3 separate regions of the Homo sapiens genome follow, and regions 2 and 3 are each linked to region 1. Evidence: promoter capture Hi-C in 16 types of primary human blood cells and fetal thymus (Javierre and others, 2016). All regions are on one chromosome and are shown on one strand. The core of a region is centred on a gene start or on the middle of the fragment in contact, and the rest is flanking DNA. Distances in the headings are between cores, read along the strand shown. Region 1 holds the start of ZNF281 (zinc finger protein 281). Region 2 has its middle 360 kb from the start of NR5A2. Region 3 has its middle 350 kb from the start of NR5A2.

Region 1 (4,294 bases), core at 1,089-3,588:
TGGAGTATTCTTGCAACATACTTGCTTTATCATTTGAAGGTGTTTGGGTGCCTGGGCTCAAATTTTCTTCTTGAACCAATTCTGAGTGTTCTCCTGAGGTGTGTAAATCCACTCGTGGTTCTGCAATATTGAAAGGATCCTCTTTCTGGCTTTCTGATTTGTTGGAGTATTGATCCAAAATACTTTGTAAAACCTCATCAGGAATTCCAGACTTGTCATGACAAGATTTAATTTCAGCATTTAGAGCTGAGGAGTCAATAAGTGACAATGGTGCCTCATTGTCCAAAACACTGACACCTGCAGACTGAATGACAGACTGTTGGGAGACCATGTGTCCTACGTTTATAGAAAAGGCACTGTTGCTGCTGGCAGTTGGTAAATATCTTCTTTTCTTTGAAAACTGCATGGCATCATCATAATTACTACTTATCTGACCTTGTTTGCCACTTGTACTTTGGAGAAGACCAATGGTCTCCACACTATTATTTGATACTATGCCAAGTGAGCCACTTGGTTTTCCAGACAAGGATTTCTGTCCTACTATGTCTGGTAATGGTGACACAAAGTTAAGGTAGTTTTTATCTGTATTCTTTCTGCTTCCTTTCTTAAAGATCAATTTTGGCACCCTCTTCTGCAGTTCATCTATTCCAGTGCCAATTATGCCTCCACTGGAAGACACGGTAGGCATTTCTACTGAGTAACTCTGCATGTTTATATTATTTGAAATTTGCGATTCATTTGTTTTACCGGTCTTCTGTTCCTTATTTTCAATAGCTATGCTTTTTGACTTTGTTTTTCTCCTTGAAGAACTTGTATTTCCCTGAGACAACACAGCCAGATTACCCATATTGGTATGGTTTGATGACCCAGGTTCTGCACTAGTGGCTCCTTTAACTATGACTTCACCACATGTGCGCCTGTGCTTCAACAATCTATCAGTCCTTGAAAAATACTGTTGGCAAGTGTCACACTTATATGGCTTTTCTCCACTATGTGTCCTCTTGTGTCTCTCCATATGGTACTTCTGAATAAACTTCATGCTGCACTGATCACATCCAAATGGCTTCTCTCTACTATGAATTTTCTCATGTCTCTGTAGTAGGTATTTCTGAATGAAACCCATACTACACTGGCTGCACTGGAAAGGTCTTTCTCCTGTATGAATGAGGACATGTCTCCGCAGGTGATAGGAGCTTCGGAAAGCAGCACTACAGTGATCACAGATATGAGGTTTCTGACTTGGGGAGAGGATGGCACCTTCTCCATCTCCAACCAAAGAAGGTTTGGAAGATGCACTTGGCTTCCTCTTGGCTTTGATTCCCTGAGATTCTGGCTTTGGCCTTTTTGCCTTTTTGACATTAGTGTCCTGCTTTGGCTCCTCAGTGCCATGGTGGTCATCAGTCCTGCTACTGCTGCTGAGTAATACGTCACGGTGGTGCTGGGCTGGTTGCTGCTGGACATGCTGGTGGAGAATACTGAGGTCCTGGATGACGCCGTGACTCCCCCCTTCACCGCCTCCTAGGCCTGGAGACCTCTCTTCAGCTCCAGCGAACAGCCCCCCATAGTGGTGGTGGTGATGGTGGTGGTGGGACTGCTGCTCCTCAGGATCCGCGGGTTTCTCCTGTTTGATGCTAACCAAAGACTGCAAGAACCCCCAGGAGGTCCTCTGCGAGGGGAAGGCCGCGGCTGACGCCGCCGGCTCCTTCTTGAAAGTCATGTCCGGGGCTGGCGGAGGGGGGGGCTCAGCGGCCGGGGCTGCGGAGGTAGAGGAGGATAACACGCATTGCGGGGGAGGGGCGGCCGACCCCGCCGGCCGGGTGAAGCTGGTGACCGGGGGAAGACGGTGGTTGAACATAACCATACCCTGGGGAAAGGTGGGTTCCATCTCTGCCCTCCTGCCGCTGCTGCCGCCGCCGCCGCCGCCGCCACTACCACCGCCGCCGGAGCCGCTACCACCGCTACTGCCGGTACCTCCGCCGCCACTCAGGAACCCACTGCCGATTTTCATACCCCGGAGGAGGCCTGGCTGAAGAAAGGAGGAGGAAGAGGGAAGAGGGAGGAAAGGAGGTGGAACCGGGCCCCGGGCCGGGACCACCGCAGCGCTAAGGACCCCGCCGCGCCGCCGCCCAGACCGCAACGCGCCCAGCACTAATTCCCAGCCCAGTCGCCTCCGGCACCGGCACGCATGGTCCTGCGACTCTTCCCCAGGCCTCGCCCTCTCCCTCCTGGACCCACCGGCAATACTTACGGGTCCCGCCGCCGCCGCAGCCGCCGTCGCCTCCAGTTAATAAAAATAACGCCGTCCTCTCCACAATGGAATTAAAAGCCTCCCGTGTACTGCGCAGCCGCGGCGCAGTGTCTGCTGGGAACTCCTCGACCCGGCCAGAGGGGAGGGCTAAGGAGCCAGGGCGCCTGCGCCGCAGCTTCCGCCCGGCCTGCCTGTCAATCACTGGGGCCGTTGGGCGGAGGCGGGGGAGCAAGGGCAGGGGAGGCGGGGATTTGGAGCCCTGCTAAAAAGGGGCTTTCGAGGCGAACAGGCGTGATTGGTGGGCTGCACTGAAGGAGATGAAAGTGGTTGAGGGTTTCTGGGGGAAAGACGCTCAGGAGGTGGAACCCAAGGGGCGGGAAGTTACGGGGGACTGTACTACAGCGTGGCGTGGGAGATGCAGAGAAAGGGGCTGGAAGAGAAGGTGAGGGAAACTGAGGATTCAATGTTAGGGCTTTCTTCACTCTAGGTTTTGCAATCCAGGTCTTGAAATAAAATTCAAACCTAGAAGTGGATCATTGAGGGCACTTTTGATTCTATCAAGAAGCATTCAACTCCAAATGCTCAACATTTATTAAAACAGGTGCTTATGTTATCCCTTTGAATTTGGAAGCACTAATAATGGGCGCATATCCTTTGCATTTATGGGAGGAGCCTGCTTTGAAACCGCAATTAGTGGTACCGTTGCAACAAAAAAAAAAAAAAGAAAAAGAAAAAAACTTGTCTTACTGCCAACCTTCCTGAAGGCTACTGGAAGAGGAAACCGAGCGTAATCCAGGTGCAGCAGTCCTGTAAAACACGCCCACACACATACTTCATTATCATTACATCTTATTTAAATGCCCCCGTACCTTAGCCTGGCTAATCAGTCTGTTTGCCACGTTATGAATGCCTGGCCCTTTATATTGTTTATGAAAAATTAACCACCAGGCCATTCTAAGAGCTCTGCTAGGATCAACTCTTTCCTCGCCAGTACAGAATACCGAGAAACTCATTGCAAATTTAGAAATTTTTCTTGTAAGGGAAAATTATGAAGTAAAATCTTAAAATCAAAGTTATATCAACAAAATCAAACAACAAATATTTATTCAGTGTCTAATGTACACAAGGCACTCGATTTCATGTTAAGCATGCAGAAATCTAAACCAGACACTTTCCTAGCAAAGGATATTTATAAATGAGAAATTTTAAATAAAAGAACTAGAACTATGACAACAGCTTATTTACATAGTATGTTTTCTTAATGAAGTTACATGTACATCACAATGTTTCTAGCTAAATAACTTCTCATAATTAAATAATAAATTCTCTGGGAAATTTCACAATCGAAACCATAGGGATTATTTACTAATACTTATGGACCTCTCTCAGCCTGCCCTAAAAATTTTACAGACAATATTTAATGAGAATTTTGAGATAAGAAGAAATTGCTTTTTTTCTAATCCCATGAAACAACATGTAAGTATTCCACCACTTAAACTGACACTTTAATACTGTCAAGTATAGTTGTGATATTGTGAAATATATATTTGGACTTTGAACCGTTTTGTGGCATACAACTGCTAAAAATCCTTGGAATCTGCAAAGTAATAAATGTCTTTTTGTATGCTAATGAAGCGACTGATGATGGCTGGCAACCCCTAGGTAGCTTCAGGATGGGGGCTGGTCACCGGAAAGACCAAGGCAGGATTAGAGTTTGGGACTTTCAGTCCCACCCCCCGACCTCCGGGGAGGAGAGAGGGATTGAAGGTTAAGTTGATCTTCAATGGCCAATGATTTAATCAATCATGCCTGTGTAATGAAGCCTTCATAAAAACCTAAAAAAGGACGGGGTTTGGAGAGCTTCCTGTAAGCGAACCCGTGAAGGTTCCAGGAGGATGGCGCACCCGGAAAGGGCGTGGAAGCTCCGCGCCCCTTCCCACAGACTTTCCCCCATCCATCTCTTCATCTGGTGTTCATCGATAGCCTTTGTAATGTCCTTAATAGTAAACCGGAAAACGTAAGTGTTTGCCTGGGTTCTATGAGCTG
Region 2 (4,294 bases), core at 864-3,363, 750 kb before region 1:
TAATCTAGCTGAGAAAATAAAGTAAGCATCAGCGACAACGTTAGTCTTAGGCAAAATATGGTAAGTACTATAACAGATATAAAGTGCTTCGGGTTTTAGAGTAAGAAGTATCATTCCCTTGTCAGAGCCAAGAAAGCTTCATGGAGGTGCTCAAACACTGGCTCAAATGCAATATGTAGCTAGAACAATTTTTAAGCTCTGAACATTTTCATAAACTAGGTAGAGGAGGGAAAATGATTTCCATAAGTGTACTACATTATGAGTGTACTCACACTGCCTTTCTATGACCTAAACACTGAGCCTTAAATTAGGGACCCACAAACTTTTTCTGAAAAGGGCCAGATAGTAAATATTTTGGGCATTGCAGGCCATATGTTCTCTGTTGCAATTACTGCACTATGCCAAAGACAATATATAAACAAATGAGCGCGACCATGTCCCAATGGTAAAACTTTACTTATGGACACTGAAATCTGAATTTCATATAATTTTTACATGAAAAAAAGTATATTTTTTCAACCACTTAAAAATGTAAAAACATTGCTTAGCTCACAGGCTTCCAAAAAAAAATAAAACAGGTTATAGGCTGGATTTAGCCTGCAGGCTGTAGGTAGACAGTCCCTGTTATGCTTTAGAATGTTAGCTTCGCAACCCAGCTAAACTTTTCTTTGTAATTTTCTATCTACCACACCTTCCTCAGACTGCATCTTTCCAAAATAATCTTTATAGAACATCCATAGGGGAAAAAAAAACTCTTCCCTTCCTATACACGTTTGTAGCTACACTTTAAGACATTTCAGCTCTTTTCTCATTTTCTTGGAATGAATCAACAAATATGTATATCATATGTGCTATATTATATTTCATAGTTTTCTACAAGTGCAGAGGTACCAGTTTTGTTTGGATTTTATACTCCAATGCCCTTCCAGGTGATAATATTTTACTGAATTTTTTAAAGCAATAACAACGTATGGGTCAAAGACAATGAATATTTAATATAGAGGCACAGGAGGAGATGAAGCATAAATTATGTATTTTATCCTAAAGGGGAATTTTGAAATAATTTTCTAACATGAATGCTCCACCTACTAGTATTCAAGAGCCTATTCTTGTGATCTTCACGAAAGGACATTTGCAGGATGCACACCGGGAATCTTATTTCTATGTTGTCTCATTAAATCTCATTTGATCTACACTTTCACCCTGTGGAAGATATGTTATATCATTTCCATTTTTAAAAGTTTGAAGAGATTTGCTGTTCACATCTCCTGATCCGAAGTTAAGCTTCTCCTGGGTAAAGCAGAGATGGAGTTGTAGACAAAAATTGTGTGTGTGTGTATGTTTCTGTGAGTTTTCTTAATGTTTCTTAACTGATTTTAGTGAGCCTCTTTAGCAAACCTGGACATCAAACATGTATTTCTTTATAAACCCTTTAAGTGAAGTATAAAAATCCATCCAGAAAAGTTATTAATCCTAAGTGAACAGCTTAATGAAAAGCATTTAACATGTTCATGTGACATGTGCAGATCAAGAAACAGAACATCAACAGCATCCCAGAAAATCCCTCTCTAGTCCCCCACAATCTCTACCCCATCTATCCTCTCCACCAAACAAATATCTTTCATATCAACTTCTGTTCTGTTTTGACATTATTTAAAGCTATGCATCAACACCATATCCTTCTGCCCAGTGCTATCATCTCAACTAAAATGTCTTTATAGCTTTATGCCTTTTGTGACACAGCATATTAAAATTATTAATAGTAACTTGTCCTCCAGTAAGAAAATTCTGGTTACATTACTTACTAGTTTTGTCACTATGAACAAGTTACTTAACCCCTCTAAGGCTCAGTGGTTTCCTCAGTCATAAAATTTAGACAATACTGGTATCTATCTTTGTGAGATTATCATGGGGAAAAATGATAAAATATACGTAAACTTGCTAACACTCTGCTCGTTATCTAGTAAGAAAACAATACATAATATTTATCATTATAATTTCAGTATTTACTAGTGTGGCATGATTATAGGCAGTCAATAAATATTTGAGTCCCTATCCTGGGCTCTGGGTAACTCAGCTTGTATAAACTACATAAATCTCTACCTATACATAACCCAATTCCCTCTCTAATTTTAAATACAATCAAGATAATCCTAAATCTAAAACAACTGTTAGTAACTCTTCATTATTTCTAAAATCAAATTCACAATATATGCATATTTGTGTGTATAACTCTCCTAAAATGAAATACTTTCCACCTGGTTTCTCCTCAAAATCTATCTGTTAAGACCCATTCCAAATACTGCCTCCCATAGTACATCTTTACTTAATCTGATTCCAGGTAATCTCTGAAGGGCCAGGTTCTGTTACTTTCCTGAAGCCCTTCCATTGTCTCTCTTGGACAAGAGAAATACATGAGTGACCACACTGCACTTTCTATAGGACAGTCTCCCTGAGCACAGGAACTGTTGTCTAGATCACTTACAGCCAGCCCAGCATTATATTTTACATATAATAACAATAATATACTAAAAATCATGCTATCAGACAAGTATGTAGAAATTTATACTTTAATTCTTTTATCAACCTTCAAAACATGAGAGCTGCATAATATAATTATTCTCAGTTTGCAATTGTTTAATTTGACAAACACAGATATACCACTTACTACGCCCCAGCAGGACTGGCATGCTTTGCATAGTATAACTCACTTAATCCTACTGGGTGATATAGGCATTATCATTGTCCTCATTTTACAGATAAGGAGAATAAGACAAAATAGTTGAACAAGTAGCCCAAAGTCACCCAGATAGTAAAACAAATAAGTGAGGCTCATCCTCAGGCAGGCCACCTAACTACCATGCCACCATGTACTGCAGCCTGCATCATGACGGGCCACCAATAAGTAGGTGAAGAAATTGATTGAAGATAGACTTACAATTAAAGCTTTGGTCTATAATTAAATCAGTGTGTAAAAAATGGATTTTCTAACTATGGGGGTGGGGGAGATTGATGTTCCTCTTATGCCTCAATCTCTTCATCACCTGCTTCCTTTTCAGCTAAGCACAGTGTACTAGAGAGCTTAGCTCATCCATAGGGCTTGTTGCAGGCACAACAAGGAATCACTGTGGGTTTTCATGTCCTAGAAGTAGATGTAGCTAAAAAGCATTAATATGTTTTTGCAAAAAAAGATTAACAAATTCTTGTTTTCAAAAATCAAAGAACTTAAATTATAGTAGGATAATCTACTTTCATAATCAGTATTAACTTTTTAGATCAGTATTAACTTGTTCAATGACCAGGCATTTCTTATGTGGATTTGCTTTTCTTATCTTCAATGCATGTTTATTAAATATCTGCTCTGTGCATTGCACTATCCTAAGTTTCAGAGATACTAAAATATTAAGACATTATTTCAAATGTTTTATCATTTAGTTTTCTCTTTTAAGAAGTATCTTTTTTCCTTCTTTAACTGGTGGTCTTAATTGAGATAACATCTACAGAGCATTTTCTATTTCTTGGAAAGCAGGTGACACCTTATAAAGTTTTATGCAAGCATTATGGTTAACATATGGCAAATTATTCTAGGCAAATGCTGTTTATAGATCTTTCAAACGTTTTTCACTTAGTTTAAATTTGTATTGATCTAATTGCAATTCTTACACTTCTTAAGGAAAAAACTAATTTTTTTTCTCTCAGGTAAAATGAGTAAAACACCCAGAGAATACTTAGCAGTCTGGGAAGAATATTTTAAAGATTCTATCCCTATTTGCCTCTTCCCTCTAACTAGCATGAACACATATTCCTTACATGGTACATTTGTTCCATTCCATGGGTTAGAATGTTCTATTCGAATCTGCAGGTGACCTCTCTGGGCCTTATTCTTGTATCTGGAAACATAGGCAGTTATGGCTGGCCTCATGTCCCCTTAAAGGCCAAAGTTGAACACTACATTATCTGGGCAGAAAACACCTTATTCTTATTCCTCAACAGTTCTAACAACTCACAGCCCTTCTCAGTCCCTTTATGAACACAGATGTCGTTTTAATGGGGGGGAGAGCTGAAGTGACAAGAAGGTGACCTGTGGGTGAACCCAGGAGCAGGTGAGGCCTGTCAGTTTTTAATTTGAAACTGGTGTCAGGCCTGAGGAATGGCTGGTATAATCACATTTGTAACTGATCTCCTATAAACTCTGCAAACATTCAAGGGATGGCTGTTGTGAGCAATATGAAATTAACAATTCATGTGCAGGTCTCTGGGCACCTAACTAAATCAAATGTATCTTTGAAAACTG
Region 3 (4,294 bases), core at 665-3,164, 730 kb before region 1:
AACACAGAATTTTAAAAAATTATAAAAATATCACTGATTTCACATCAACAATGCGTGCCAGGAGGCCATGGAAGAACTTATCTAATCAGCTTAACTTTTTAAAATGTGAAATTCTATATCCAGTGAAAATATCATTCAAACATGATGACAAAATAGGGAAATTTTCAAATAGACAATATCTGAGAGAAATTGTAACTAGCAGGTCTGTACTACAAGAAATGTTAAAGAAAGTTTGTTAGTCTAAAAAGAAATGAAAGCAGGTAAAAATGTGGACATGTATGATGGAATGAAGAATTCTAGAAATAAAAAAATGTGCATACACGCAAAAGATTTTGTTTTTTAAAAAATATGACTGTTTAAAGAAAAAAATAAGAGTAACTTATATGTAGAAATAAATGACAACAAAAACATAAATGGGAGGTTGAAAAAAATATGATATAGCTTGGATTTGTGTCTTTGCCCAAATCTCACATCAAATTTTAATCCCCAGTGTTGGAAGAGGGGCCTGGTGGGAGGTGATTGGATCATGGGGGCAGATTTCCCCCTTGCTGTTCTCGTGATAGTAAGTGAGTTCTCAAGAGATCTGGTTATTTAAAAGGGTGTAGCACCTCCGCTTTGCTCTCTTCCTCCTGCTTCAGCCATGTAAGATGTGCCTGCTTCCCCTTCTGCCATGATTATAAGTTTCCTGAGGCCCCCACAGCCATGCTTCCTGTACAGCCTGCAGAACTGTGAGCCAATTAAACCTCTTTTCTTTAAAAATTACCCAGTCTCAGGTATTTCTTTATAGCAGTGTGACAATGGACTAATAAAATATACAATTCAAATTTTCTTAAATTTTACTTAAAATGACATAGCTCATTTGAAAATTGAGTGTAATAAGTTAAAGATGAATATTTTAATCCCTAGGGACACCACTAAAAACAGTTAAATATAAAGCCAATAAAGGATATAAAATGGAATATAGACATATGCACGCAAAAGAGAAAGGAAGAAAGTAAAAAGAGTAACATCAGCAACAACATCAAAGTGAGAAAAATTTAAAAAAAGCAGACAATAGATTTTATTTAACCATATTGATATTTAAATTACACATAAGTGGTCTTGAACATTCCAATTAAAAGGCAGGCATTAAGAAACTGGATAAAATAACAAAATCCAACTCTATTGTTTTTAAGAATGAACTTCATTTTTTAATTTTTTTAATGATATTGGAAGTACTTTATTTTATCATGTGACATCATATAACAGCAGTCTTATTTACAGCTGCCTAACCACACAATGTAGATTTGAATTTGAATAGGGAAGCTGGCTCAGAAACAGCAATACTACTGACTCAAGAACTGATGTTTACATGATGACGTTTTGACTGATTTACAGGAGTTTTAAAACACAAGTTTATACTGATTAGAATTATTTCATGGTTTCATAAAAGCACTACTGTATTAAACCAAAAATAAACTAGGTATAGTTTATTCACATAATGAAGCTGCAATTGAAAACAAGCTTACAAATTTCCCATCTCAGGTCTTTTTTCTGTTCTCAGCATTACTACAAATGCCTCCTTCCATCACCATGCTGAACTCCTCAGCATCTTCTATATCACTTCCAGAGGAATGTCTGGAAAGTAGTGATGCTTATCTTCCCTCAGAAGCAAACTGATAATGCCAATATCCCCACAACTCATACTTTTTGCCTTTTTGATATGTGCTTCTTTTTGGCATAACAGAAGAAACACACCACTAGGATTCTGAAAACCTAAACTCTGGGCCTGCTGGTTATAAACTGCAGAATCTTAGAGCGTGTATCCTCCCCAAGTGCCTCTTTTCTCAACTGCAAAAAAAAAAAAAAAAAAAAAAATTGTATTTGTTTGGTCCTTTGTACTCCTTTTATTACTTATCTTCATAATAATCCTTAGACTGAAGAAAGGCAGCATTATCCCCAGTTTATAGAAGAAATTCAATCTCAAAGCAATTATACAATCTACCCAAGATCCCACAGGTAGTAATATATCAAATGGCAGAGCTAAACTCACACAATCTCACACAAGATCCTAGTACTGGAATGTGTTGTGCTCCTAAGTTTGCTAAATGGATGAAGCAGGAATTTCCCAGGTACCTTCCAATGATCACATTCTGTGCTTCTACTTGCTATTTTCTCTTCTCTCAACTAGCGTTAAAATCAGAAAATATGTATATTTAATCACTAAATTTCATTTGTCATGGATCTTTGATTTAACTGTTGTTTTAAGGTTTTTTTGTATTTCTATATTGAATTCAGAAAAATAATTTTTTTTTTCAAATAGTTCTTGCTGCTGCCTGCCTCTCCGAAAGCTTTTGGACTTACCTATTTGTCAAGGCAAAAAATGCTAACATTTTATAAACATCACTAATCACTTTTTATAACTTTAAAGACAATTATTCCATACTTAAAACCAATTCAAAACAAAAGAAATTCTGGTTAATTCTTATTCTCTGGAGTACTAATAAAAATGTATTTTCTACTGATTTTGTATCCAAGGACTAAATTTTAAATGCAAAATTATTAAAAGTACAAAATATACAAAAGGTTAAAGTACAAAGTACAAAATGATTAAAAGAGAAAAGGATGAAATCATACCACATACCTATTAATCATAAGAAAGCTGGAGTACCTATATTAATATCAGAGTATACTTCAAGATAAGTATTTCTGGCCAGGCGCGGTGGCTCATGCCTGTAATCCCAGCACTTTGGGAAGCTGAGGCAGGTGGATCACTTGAGGTCAGGAGTTCAAGACTATCCTGGCCAACATGGTGAAACCCTGTCTTTACTAAAAATACAAAAATTAGCCAAGAATAGTGGTGTGTGCCTGTAGTCCCAGCTCCTCGGGAGGCTGAGGCCAGAGAATTGCTTGAACCCGGAGACAGAGGTTTCAGTGAGCCGAGATTGTACCACTGCACTCCTGCCTGGGTGACAGAGCAAGACTCCATCTCAAAAAAAAAAAAAAAAAAAAAAAAAGTCAAGTATTGCCATGAATTGAAAAGAACATTTCATAATAATCAGGAGTCAATTAATCAAGAAACACTAACAATCCTAAATGTAAATAAACCTAATAATATCATGGATCTAATAAAACTTCAAAATGCACAAAGCAAAAACTAAAGAAATAAAGGAAGAAATAGACAAATCCACAATTACATTTGGAGATGCTACCTCTTATCTTTCTAGAATTGATAGAAAAACTGTCCAAAAAATCAATAATTATATTAAAGATATCAGTTGAACAATTGAACCTAGTTAACAAATGTCAGTAGTACACTACACCCAACAATGGCACAATGCATATTCTGTTCAGTAGTACATGGAGTATTCACCTACAGAAATTATATGCTGGGCCACAAGAAGTTTCAGGAATTTGGAAATATTGTAATCATACAGTGTATGTTTTATGACTAAAAAGATCAAATGAGCAATCAATAGCAAAAAGATATCTAGGAGTTTCTAAGCCTTTAGGATAATGCCATTCACTTGATTCCAAGTCTCCATACACACTATCCCCGGAAACATCAAATCACCAAATAGTGCAAATAAAACCACACAAGACTAAGAGATTAAAAAAATACCATGAATTTCAATAACCTATAAGTACACTAAAAAAAAAAATCCAACAGAGCTCTCATTACTAACTGCAAACTTTTGAGTGGACAGAGTGGGAAAAAGAACTGAAATGAAACCAAAAAATACTGTCCCATAAAGAGAAAAAGAGAAAGTCTAACACTAAATGGTAAAAACTGAACAAAGGTTTGGGACTTGGTCATTCACAACACTGTCTTTGGAAAAGGGGTTATAAAGTGATCACGATTAGAAGTGACAGTCTCAAAGAATCATTGCTTCTTGGGAAAATCAGATTAATAGTGAAAAGGTGGTACCTCTTGGAGATAGGGCAGTGCAAGGAAGTAGAAAATCTTCCCTTCCCAGCACCAGTATCATACATTAAATGCACTGCATTTCACTAAACTGACAGAAAAAGGGCTCCTGTCCTAGGACTCTGTCCACAGTGCACAGAAATAGGAAAAAAAAAATTTCATGCATAACTACTAAACATAGGAAACAGAAAATATGACCCAAAAGAATCAGCTGATGACAATTCTTCCCTAAATACAATAGTTACATAGAAGAAATGGTAATATAACAATTTGTACTAAATTATATATCCTTAAGTATTTTGGGATATAAAAAATAATTTGGAATCATAAATTCTAAAATTAAAAACAAAAAGGGACAAAGGAGAGTAGAACATAAAATTGAATAGACCA

The links. The method cuts DNA at HindIII sites, captures the fragments that hold promoters and counts their contacts. A CHiCAGO score of 5 or more calls a contact.
Region 2: a contact is called between a fragment that was not itself captured here and the fragment with the promoter of ZNF281 in region 1, in 1 of 17 cell types (total B cells). The highest score is 5.1, in total B cells.
Region 3: a fragment that was not itself captured here is called in contact with the fragment with the promoter of ZNF281 in region 1 in 1 of 17 cell types (M0 macrophages); the score reaches 5.2 in M0 macrophages.

The regions. Positions count from the first base shown.
Region 1 is chr1:200,407,698-200,411,991 of GRCh38, forward strand. It overlaps ZNF281 (zinc finger protein 281), which reads right to left and starts at 2,339. Exons shown (of 2, transcript NM_001281293.2): 1 at 2,249-2,339; 2 at 1-2,026. The coding sequence starts at 2,008. RefSeq lists enhancers at 1,588-2,165, 2,166-2,743, 2,744-3,321, 2,868-2,917, 3,593-4,199 and a silencer at 2,348-2,527. The HindIII fragment of the contact is 20,575 bases long and covers 1-4,294 here.
Region 2 is chr1:199,661,429-199,665,722 of GRCh38, forward strand. No RefSeq gene overlaps it. Among named protein-coding and RNA genes, the nearest start is that of NR5A2, 360 kb to the right of the region's middle. The HindIII fragment of the contact is 1,662 bases long and covers 1,283-2,944 here.
Region 3 is chr1:199,677,666-199,681,959 of GRCh38, forward strand. No RefSeq gene overlaps it. Among named protein-coding and RNA genes, the nearest start is that of NR5A2, 350 kb to the right of the region's middle. The HindIII fragment of the contact is 827 bases long and covers 1,502-2,328 here.